Regions from separate parts of the Homo sapiens genome. Here region 1 is linked to region 2. Evidence: promoter capture Hi-C in human tissues and cell types (Jung and others, 2019). All regions are on one chromosome and are shown on one strand. The core of a region is centred on a gene start or on the middle of the fragment in contact, and the rest is flanking DNA. Distances in the headings are between cores, read along the strand shown. Region 1 overlaps LOC107986335 (a long non-coding RNA gene). Region 2 holds the start of FAT1 (FAT atypical cadherin 1).

Region 1 (5,596 bases), core at 570-3,069, 510 kb after region 2:
ATAATAAGGAACACTAACAAATGTTAAAGACCACATATGATAATATATTTATGACTTGGTGGTGGCAACATGATTGTCAAATAAGAACAAAATGCACTAGCCGTAAAGGAAATATGGTTAAATTTTATCACATTAAAATTAGGACTTCATGTTCATCATAACACACAAAAAGAGAGTGAGAAAACAAGCAAACTATGACACAAGACCAGCAACACATACTAGTGATAAAAGTCAGGGTCCAGAATATATAAACTTGAATATATATAGAAACAAACAGCTCGACGGAAAATTGTGCAAAAATATGAACAGGTAGCTTACAAAAGTGCAATCATGAATTACTAATACATCTATGAAAAAAAATGTTGTTAAATCCCACTAGAAATCATGAGGATGAAGGTAAAAATCACAGTTAGCTGCCATTTGACACCAACAGACTGGGAAAACAAATTTAAATCTGATAGTACAAATGTTCAGAAGATTGTGACTCCCATTAATCAGCGGTCTTTGGGGCTTTACCTAGTAATGGTAAACACGTACGTTACCTATAAACACAGAAATTCCACTCCTTGGCATATAAGCTAAAGAAACTCTTGCCTATATGCACCAAGAGATATATACAACAATGTTTGTAGCTGCATTTTCACAAAAGCAAAACTTGGAAACAATTTGGTGTTTTCTAAAACCAGAATAAACAAATGAAAGTCACATATTTAAACATGTATGCATCTCAAAAACATAATACTGAGCAGTAAAAGAAAATCACATGCGCACAAATACACATTTATATTTGGTAAGATTTATTATTATAAAAGCTAAAATTAGGCAAAACTAAATATTGTTCAGGAATATTAATATTTTCATATAAGTATTGATAAATTCAACATAATAAAATACCAAAGCTATTGATAATGTACAATGGTGGCTAAATGGGTAGTAGCCTTTTTATCATTCTTACATATTATCCGTTATATATAGTTGGCATATATTTTAAAACAACAATATGAAATAACGTGATGAAAAAATTAACGAAGCTACAACATGAATCCCTTTTTGAGCAAGTTGTAAAAAGAGATCTGGGAGAGTTTCTCCTCTCTGTATCTAAAAGTACCATCTCATCTATATTTAAGACGTCGAATATAGACTCATGCAGTTTTGGTTTAACTCTTTAAAAACGGCTTTCAACAGGGTTTCATGCTCCCTTAATTGCTTGTTGTTAAAAAAAAACCTATTTTCTCTGATGTCTTATTTTAATTTTTATAAACCAGTTTAGTTTAAAAAACAGTGAGTTACTCTAGCATTTACACTTGATTTGCTTTTTAAAAATACCTTCTAATTAAGAAAAAAATCATAGTTTAATATAGAGTCATTAGGACAGGTGGGGGTGGGCGGCGAGGGGGTGGCTGGACTTCCTCGGGAGCGCAGATCTGTGTCCTCGCGGAGATCATCGTTCTGCACAGAGGAAGTCTGTGACGTGCGCTGCCACCCGTTGCTCCTGGCAGCAGTGAGGAAAACCAGCTTAGGGAGGCCCGGGGAGCACAGCAGAATGGCAAGCAGACTGCCAGCCAGAGGGACACTGTTCAGTACAAACTTGTTGACTCGGGGCACAGTCTGGACAGGCCGTGTGACAGCCTTGTGTTTCAATTACTCCAGCCCAAGGAGGCAGGAAAAAGGACCATCTAATTGAGAAACAGGCATTGTATCTAAATTGAGATTTCCAAGGGTGCATCCTTGTTAAAAAGGAGAACTCATGGTTAGGTGCAGCCTGCCCTGCAAAGCCTGGGTCACTGAGCATCAGCAAGCTTATTTTTAAATCATCTTTTTTTTTTTTTATGATGACACCTCCGACTGGAAATCATTGACTTGGCAGAATAGCAAGTCACACATTAAGCAACAAGCGAAATACACTAATCGTAGCTTGACTGTTTTGTAAAGAATTTCACAGCACAAAAAGTTAATATCATTGATTTGGAGGAAGTATGTAGGGGAAACCCATATGTAGTGAGTATACTAATTGTGACAGCTCTTTTAAAAGCAGGCAGAAGGCATTATTGCTGAGGCAGCTTGAGGAGCTGTTTGTCATTTTAAAAAAGCATGGAAGCCACAAAAAAGAGTTGGGCAAGGCTTGGGAGAACTGAGGAATTATGAGAATAAAAAACAAAAACCGGTAAAAATTCTCTTCCATTTCATTTGAGGAGCTCGGAATTCAATGCTTTCTCTTAGATAATGAGAGAGAGCAGTTAGAGGCAGACGGAAACAGCACGAAGTGCTCATTACTTTTAAATGTGCAATTTAAATACTCAAGTGTATCCATGGAAAAAAAGATTTAAATAGCAAGCTTCATTACTATTTGCTCCTAGAAGACAATGATCTCTGCAGATTGCCCCATTCTGTTGAAGTCAACATGGAGATGAATAGCAATTTTGCAGTTTGAGAAGAAGAGGGGTATGTGGGAAAACTGAAATGTGAACAAAACAACAGTTGGGCCTTTTTCCATTGTTTATGGGTGCTTTGGGAATTCTCTGCAGCTTTATCTTTCATGATGGCTTAATAAGTAAAAATACAGGACATAGTCTACATGTTTGAGACATGATTCACAGAATGGTACTAATTCACCTAAGGGCCTCTGCCTGGCTTAGTCCACATAGCACATCTAAGCATCTGGAATCACAATGGCAATCTTCCCAAAGGCCAAGGGCTTTAGTTATTTTGCTGGTTATGTACATAGACCAGCATAAACTATGCAGCCATCTGTATTTTTCTGTACCAAGACTGAGTAAAATGAATTTATAATTTTGAAAGTGTTCATCCTTGATGACCCCTTCACGCTAATTTTTATTCTTTTCAAACAACTGTAGGGTCTGGGATGCCCGGAACTCTGTTCACTCCAAATGTCCCATCCATCCTCATTTGCCTGGTTGCCCACAGCTTTGCCATCTCAGTATGTTCCCCACACAACGCCATGGGCAATTTGTAAGATCGCTAGCAGAGCAGGCTCTTGAACCACGCTGCCTAGGTTAAAATATCCACTCCCAGCTTGCTGTGTGGAATGTTGGGCAAATAACTTAGGTTCTCTGTGCTTTCTTTCCTGGCTTCTGAAATTTACCGAAGAGTAATAATACATTCCCATTCAGTTACTGTGAGGGAGAACAGAGCTCAGCACACTGGCATGCAATAGGTGCTCAGTAAGCGTTATATGTAGTCATCCACACCACGCATCACTACTGTGACTGTGTTCCACCCTGAATCAAATCACTTTCTCTGTCAGCACCAACTCCTTCGACTGGGGTGAGTGTCAGCAGCGAGTGACATGCAGAGCCACACCAGGGCCCACAGCGTTTCCCAGAGAGGAGAGGTAATCCACAGGGGAGGTTCAGAATATGGAGCCTCCTAAGATAGCATCCGTAATGTCGCAACCTTGGGGATATCAGAAGAATGGCAGGTGATTTTTTTTTTTTTTTTTGAGACGGGGTCTTGCTCTGTCACCCAGGCTGGAGTGTAGTGGTGCCATCTCGGCTCACTGCAACCTCTGCCTCCCGGATTCAAGCCGATTCTCCTGCCTCAGCCTCCCGAGTAGGGACTACAGGCGCCCGCCACCACGCCCGGCTAATTTTTTTTTTTTTTTTTTTGTATTTTTGGTAGAGATGGGTTTTCACCATGATATTTTACTGAAACTACCAAGGGGGGAAATTGAATAACAGAGAACTCCAGAGTGTGCATTATCACAAAGGGCAACTTCAGGTAGAAGTCTCACTGATGTTCCTGGAGCCTGGGGATCTTGGTCATCAAGGAAAAGCTGCACAAAAAAAAGACAGGGTAAAAGGACTTCTGATTTTGCCAGAAGAGCAGCCAATGTTATGTAAAGAAAGACAGTTGAACCCTTAGGTTATTTTAGGTCATAAAAAAAGACTTGATTAAAACACATATTGTAGAGAAAATTTATAAAAATTTTAAGGATGCCAGTTCATGTGTGGACATAAGCTAATGAACTGGCTGGGGCAAAACCACTGGATTTTTGATGATATTCTAAGGAAGATGGCTTGATTCCTGGAAATGAAATTTATTAATAGAAGAGATTACCAGGCCTAAGGCATATATGCTATTTTATATTAATTTTTAAAGAACTGAGTTAGGATGTATTTTACATCCTAATAGGAATTGTAAATAAAAAATAACTGTTTGACAATTATGCAGAAATGGTTTTGTATTCAGTCTTGTTGTCTGTCATTGTCATCATACTCTTCCAAGGGTATATATTTTTGTGCAACTTACAGTCCAAAGGCAGGAAAGAACCCACAAGGCCTTTGCTTCCACTTAGATGGAGTTAGAAGTTGTTTCCATAAGGTGATAAGAGAGGGAATTTAGTTCTCATTATTTCACCTGCCCCTACACCCTCCATTCATCCAGATAGAAAGCCTTTTGATAGAATTACTCATTGCCCTTCTAGATATTTAGGTAGCTTCTTTAAAAATACAATTCATTAGATGGGCAGTGGAAGTTGACCAAAATATTCAGGGACCTATCATAGTAAGTATTGATTTATGAGAGCACTTTTCTCCTGACAGGGGGTGCTAGGGAAGCATGGAGAACAGGAGACCAACTCCATGGGGGAAAGATGAAGAGCAATGGTGTTTTTGAGCATGGGCCCTGAATTAAGTAAGACATATGTTCAATTTCTAATGTTGACACTTACTAGCTGTGTAAATGGCCTTGGGCAAGTTCATGGTACAAGCTAAGCCTCATATTTCTTCATCTAAAACAACAGGGATTTTAGTTTCTGTTGTATTATGAAATAGATATTAATAATAATTATTGAGCAATTAGTGAAACTGTTCATAACCAGACTGACTGTAGGCAAGTATGAACTCTAACAGATTAACTATGTGTACAGCATAGAGACACACAAGTGGATAATGTGAAGATAGAGGAAAGGACATATGCATTCGAATTTCAATTTGAATTTCACAGCGGTAGTCAAATAATACCTACCATCACCAGAAGCATAAGAAGTCCCCATGCAGAGCTGTGGTTTTCTAGCCCTTCTTCACGCTTCCCCATAGCCTTGATGGGCTAGATGCTGGCCATGGTTACCATGCACTCACCTGGCGAGGGCTTTGTTATAGCTTCATGAGTCTCAGAAGTTGGACCTGCTGGCTTTAGAGTCCGACTAATTTTGTTTTTCTCCTAGAAGTTGTTTCTGAATGGATAATTTGGTGTTAGACAATTAGAAATTCACTGGATTTCTGGTCTAGGCAAGATACATTTGATTGATTTTTCTTTTCATGTAATCGTTTCTGGTAAGTCTCTGAATGAGCATGTTTTCAAGCTTTTTATTATAAATAACAAAGCAAAATACAAGTTATAGAAAGACATTAGAGCTTTCTTCTAATCTTCTTGCCTGTTGTCAGTCTCCTTTCTCCTTTCTTCCCTCCATTCCTTCTTCCTCCTTCCCTTCCTTCCTCCCTTTGTACCTGCCTTCCTTTCCTTTTTTTTTTTTTTTGTTTGTAGTGGACAAATTAGTTATCATCAATTTATTTCTGAATATCTCAAAACTTGAAATGCACAAACATATGCTGTTAGTCACAATACTTAAATCACC
Region 2 (5,942 bases), core at 947-3,446:
CCAAACTTGGGTGGAAAGCAAGCGGGTAAAGTGTTAAAACATAATCTCTAAGATCCTATCCACCTCTAACATTCAAAGAAACGACTGCTTCAAAGGGACCTCAAAGCAAAGTCTAAAGGCAATGGAAAGGTAGAGGATGATCAGGGGAATGAAAACAGAATTAGTTTGTGCATAATTTTTAAAGATTTTTCTTCTCTTCTTTTTCTTTTCTTTTTTTTCCCCAGGCTGAATTGCAATGGCACGATCTCGGCTTACCACAACCTCCGCCTCCCGGGTTGAAGCGATTCTCCTGCCTCAGCCTCCCAAGTAGCTGGGATTACAGGCATGCACCACCACACTCCGCTAATTTTGTATTTTTAGTAGAGACGGGGTTTCTCCATGTTGGTCAGGTTGGTCTCGGACCCCCGACCTCCGGTGATCCGCCCGCCTCGACCTCCCATAGGGCTGGGTTTACAGGCGTGAGGCACTACGCCCGGCCATAATTTTTAAACATTTTTCTGTTGGCACCTGTCCGGACCATGGATTTAAATGATCTACTAACATGATGAGAACCCAACGGGGATACTTCAAAAGAGACAAATGAATATACAGGTGGCCCGAAATGATTTTATAAAGTCCTCTAACAACCACACTTCTTTCCAGAGTGCCAAAGAATTTGGCTCATTTAAGGTGTTCATTTTTCAAAAAATGGTTATACAAATGCAAACTTCATTCAAATCAAACCTTACCTTGAGCTTGTTAAATGCCATGTTTAGCATCACTCAAGGCTTATACCAATTGTTGTTTTAAAAAATTACATAGTGCTTTAAGTATTTTTACATCTTAAATACAAAGGAATAATTCTAACTGTGGAATCAGAGCTGTCTTCCTAAGACAAAAAGACAAAGACAAATATCACAATTAACTATTAACTGGAGAAACACCTTTTCAAACGTCCCTGTAACAACTGGATGTGTTGGACAGCATAACCAAACTCATTAAGAATAGTGTGAAAAACATCACCATTACCTAGTTCTCACACACAGATACCTTCTTAAACTATCGAAACCTGTATCTGAATATACGAAGCATTAAGAATCTGCTTTTGAAAAGGAAATGAATATCTGAAGGTCATTTTCTTTTCAATCTTTTCTCATACTAATAATCACTGTTAATATCCACTTTTAAAAAATCGCCTCTATCAGGCACCCGGGAATTGCTTAACAAAAGCCACTTAATGAAACCACAGTTCAGACAAAAAAAAAAACTTAACTGCATAGAAAATATTTATGAGTTTACTTTCCTAACTCATACAATTGCGTCCTTGTTTCCAAAGCCTTGCAATTCACATCAGCGGGAACAAAAAAATCTAACACACAGCAGAAAGCTGGCTCTCTAAAAGAAAGCATTTTTTTTTAAAGGCAATGAAGGACCAAAAACTCTTTCTTTTAAAAAGATCTTAGAAGTTCCTCCTCCAGAGAAGACAGAAAACACTGACAAACCGCACATTGTGCAGATGTTCAGCCCCGAAATGCAGCCTCGCAGCCCTTCACTCCGCAGTCCACCGGTTGCATCTGCACCTCCGGGCAGCGCTCCTGCAGGGCGCAAACACCCAGAGACCCAGGGACCCGGCAGCCCCGCGCAGGCCTCCCGCGTGCACCGCTCAGCGAGCGGGTCTTTCGCAGACGGCGGGATGCCCCAGGAGACCGCGAGGCCGGCGCAGCCCGGCGAGCTCCCGGAGGGAAGGCGGCGTGTCAGAAAGGATCGGACCCCAGCAATGGCCCCGGATCGGTCCCGCGCGGTCGCCTCCTTTTCCCGCTCCGCCGCCGGGACCCCCCTAGCCAGTGCTGAATTTCCCAACTGGGAAGGACCGAGTCACTCCACCCTCCGGGAAGTCGCGCGCTCATCCGTTTTCGGCAGCGCCGGAGCCCGAGCCGGGGACCGGGCGGACACCCACAGAGTCCGCACCGCAGCGCGCTGCACGCTCTCGCCCCCGCCCGCCGGCCCGCGCCCCAGCGAACTAACCGCAAAGTTGGCCCGAAGTGGCGACGGCGCTCTCGTGGAGCTCACCCGCCGTCTCAGCGCGCCCCCGAGCAGGGACCGGGCCTGCCGGGGCCCTCGCCGGGCTCGCGCGTCCGCATGGTACCTGCCGCACGAGCCGCTCCCGCGCCCTCTCCCCGCGCCCGGCCGCCCAGCTCGGCGCCGGCGCCTCACGCTCCCCGAGCGCAGGAGATCCCTCCGCCCCGGCCCCGCCCGCCGGCGCCGGCGCTCATTTCTCGGGCGCGGAAACTCGAGCCCACTTTCCCCGGCTGCCGGCTCTGGGACCGCGGGCTCGGCCACGCAGTCCCGCCCGGACCCAAAGAGCCCCAGTCCCTGCGAACACCAGGTCCGTGCTGGGAGACGAGAAGGCGCCCAGCGGGGTCTAGCGCGGCTCCGAGGGGCAGGGCGAGGCTTGTGATGCCGAGGTTAGTTACGGCCAGCCACAGGCGCTGTGCAAGGAATTGGGGAAAGCTCCCTGCCAAGAAAGGGAAACGTTAGCTTAGCTAAAAAAAAAAAAAAAAAAAAAAGGCTGGGGCCTAATGAGAAAGCTTCCCAGAGGCATCCCTTTAGCTTTTCCATAGCCTTCTGGGAGCCCCTGAATCTGCATTTGAATGGCGCGGCTCTGGGTCCGCGAAGGTTTGGTGGGCTGAAGTCGTCCTTCAGGTCTCCAAAGGAATGCAGCTAGGTCGGAATCTACTTCCTCCTTCAATCCCCAGAAAATGGAAACGCTTCCCCCGCGACCTTTTTCTGCCGAGTTAGACCCCAGGCCCTCCCCGCCGCGGGCGCCTGGCCTCCCCCGCTGACACCCCGGACGCCCAGGCCTGTGGGACAAAAGGCAGTCGCGGCGTCCCGCGGGCTTCCTAGCCCGGGAGTCGGCCCCAGGGGCCCCAAAGCGTGACCCCAGGCCGACAACTGCAAGTTCCTAGGCAGAGGGGAAGCCCCAGCGCCGAGAAGCCCGCTCCGAGAACTCCCCGCGCCGGGCGCCCAGCCTGAGCGTCCCGGGCGCGGAGCCCATCCCCGGTGCGGGCAGGGCTCCAGCCGCAGGCTCGGCGCAGGGCGGACTCGGCCGAAGCCCGGAGGGCCGGAGGCGCTGGGACGCAGCCCGGACAAGAGGGCGGACTTGATCTCGGAAAGTTTGTGGGACTCAGGCATTTTAACACTGGGAAGACAAAGAGATCCGATTTCCCTGGGACTGGTGAGGGGAGCTTGGCGGGGAGGGGAACGGCAGGGCAGTCAAGTGTGAAAGAGAATTTCCTGGGTTCAAAGTTAACGCAGTCACCTTATAAGCCATCTTAGAGGTGACCGGAAAAAATAATAATAATAAAGGTGTCTAGCAGGTTGTGGCTGGGAAGGAAAAATAATGCCTGCAAGATGAGTGTGCCGATTCGTAGCCCTATATTCCCTGCCCACCAGTTGGAATACACATAGATTCACACATCCAGCAAATGCAAACTCCATCATCCAAAGACGTGTTTGTCCCGGCCATAATTGCTCCAAGTGCTTACAGGTCAATTTCATACATGGAACACCTCGAAAGTGGGTGACCTGATCTCCAAGCCCAACCGGCTTGTGCCGCTTGCCGAATTGTAAATCTCAGCAAAACCCAAACACACCGGAACTCCAGCCGTTTCCTGGGAGCGAGGAAGCGGGAGTAATGCTAAAAGGGGAAAAGAAGAACAGTAAAAAAAGTACAAAGATACCATTCCCTGACGTAAAATCACGGGATTTTTTTTAAATGGCACAAGAGAATTCCTGGAGAAGATTACCATTAATTAATAAGTAATAACGCTTCCTAGGGCTTACTAGATGTTTTACATCTGTCTGGGAATCCCGATTTTCCAGGCTCCCTGAGAAATCTATCTGCCTGGAAGAAGTTGCACTTCGTCGCCACAGGAGCCGCCGAGAGCCAGGGATGGAGATTTCAGACTTAGGACTCTGCCACGATTCTACTGATCCTTAAGCGCCAACAGAACGAAATGGACATGCCTATTAGCTACCACAAATCGAATTATTTTATATGAGAGAGAGAAATGTGGTTCAAGTTCCACATTTGTCCTTTAAATAATCGACCCTCCCTAACCCTGTCCCCAAAGGCTCGTGGAAATTAGGGAGGGGGTTGGGGAGACGGTTCCAGAAACAAAACGCTTTCCTCCAGCACGGCCTCTACATCCAGTCCACCCAAGCTGATTTTTGTAACTCATATAAAGAATGGGCCCGGGTGGGTGGTCAGTGAAGACTGGGGTGAGCAAGCGCCCACGTCGCCGAGCGCCGGGGAGGTCCAGGTTCGCCTCCGCACAGAACCCTGCAAGGAGCGCGCCTCGCCAGGTGCCCGGACTAGAGGGCGCTGCGCCCCTGCAAATCTCGCGGCCCCGATGCGCCCTCCCTAGGCACCATTGCTATAATAAGTTACATTCAAAATAATGCACAAACAGCATCGCCTCTCAAGTTCTTTTTAACAGTGCTCTATATGTATTTTATGAACTCCCAAAGCTATGCATACGAATCTTTCATCGCCGATCCGCACAAAGCCAGAGGGATGCGCAGCTCCTGGAGCCGAGAACCCGTAGGGCGCACACGCTTCCCCGCACTCGCTTAGAGCCACACACCCCACGTAATTTCATTAACGTTTAAACTTAAATGCCAAAAGGCATGCACGATTTGAACAAAGAACTCACCAGTCTAGCCGAGTCCTCGGCCCTGGGCTCTAAAGTCCTCGGCAGCTCCGTGATCCCCTCGCGGTGTAGATATGTGTTAAGAGCCGGGTTTGAAGTACCAACTTTGCCTCCCCGGGATCTTCAGCATGTCCCTAACCAGAGTGCCAACGTCCGTGCCGCCGGGACCCAGGCGGCCGCATCTCCGGAGGCTTCCGACCAGGGCAAACTTAAGCACCAAACGCAGGCGAAAAGAGAGTGCGCGGGGCCGGAACGAGGGCCCGGGAGCAGCCAAGTTTGTCAGGACGTGCCCAGGCAGCCAGCCGCCGAGTTGAGGAGTTGCGGCCGCCGGCTGCGGCGACTCGCTGCCTCTTTCCCCACTCCCTCCCCCTTGGAGGCGGTGGGGGAGGGGAGGTGACGTCAGCGCCCCGCCTCGCCCCCCGCCCCGGGCGCGGACGGGATTCTCCGGCTGGGCGCGCCACCCCGACAGTGGCAGCAGCGGCCGTGGAGGCTGCGGGGGTCCCGGCCTCTGCGGTCTCTCTGGCCGGCCGCAGCTGTGGCGCGGGTGAAACGCCCGCCCTCCTCCTTCGGCTGCGTCTCCCGGGCGCCGGCGAGCGCGGGCGTTCCTCGCACTCAGCGCCTGGAGCCGCCTGGAGCCCCGCTGCGCGCACTTCCCCGGCTCGCGGAGCCCCTCCGGCGGCGTTTCCCACGCCGCGGACTGCAGGTGATGCTCTTCCTCTTCTGCAGCCGAAATTCGTCGCGATGTGTCGCCTGCCAGATTTTTGCTGGGCGGAAGCATGAACAGTCTCTGCAGACTGGCCTGGACGACTTGTACTTTGTGGCCCTCCAACTTCTGGATGTGAATTTTTTTTCACGACTTATTATTATGCTCTTCGTGGTCTTTGTGTTGAAAATCACGGAGCTGTATTTTTATTTTCAAATTCTTTCCCAATGCTCCTCTTGTCTTGACCGTACTCTGAAGCTTATAAGGTTCTGAGAGGAGGGGGCGAAGGGATAGGGGAGGAGCCAGTTCCTAATGTGTCTTACAAGTCATCCCTAGTGATAGGGGCTAATACGCAAATCACTGTCTCCTCCTCGAAATAATATCCATTTAGATAAATGCAAACACTGTTGAGGTTTAATTTATAAAGAATGCGTCGTCTTTATGTAAGTGTCCAGCCTCCAGGAAAATATCTGCTGTGGAATATATTTTTAATGCCACTAAAGTACCAAAATACCTCCCCGAACAGCGTGAAATTCCGAGGGAGCCAT

The links. The method cuts DNA at HindIII sites, captures the fragments that hold promoters and counts their contacts. A contact is called where the count stands out against the background at its distance.
Region 1: a contact is called between a fragment that was not itself captured here and the fragment with the promoter of FAT1 in region 2, in 1 of the 25 tissues and cell types used here (mesendoderm cells).

Annotation. Positions count from the first base shown.
Region 1 is chr4:187,234,104-187,239,699 of GRCh38, forward strand. The region is part of intron 1 of LOC107986335 (a long non-coding RNA gene); the gene reads right to left. Among named protein-coding and RNA genes, the nearest start is that of LINC02374, 35 kb to the left of the region's middle. The HindIII fragment of the contact is 4,020 bases long and covers 1-3,829 here.
Region 2 is chr4:186,721,660-186,727,601 of GRCh38, forward strand. It overlaps FAT1 (FAT atypical cadherin 1), which reads right to left and starts at 2,197. Exons shown (of 27, transcript NM_005245.4): 1 at 2,005-2,197. RefSeq lists enhancers at 1,638-2,139, 2,640-3,639, 4,822-5,323. The HindIII fragment of the contact is 8,530 bases long and covers 1-5,942 here.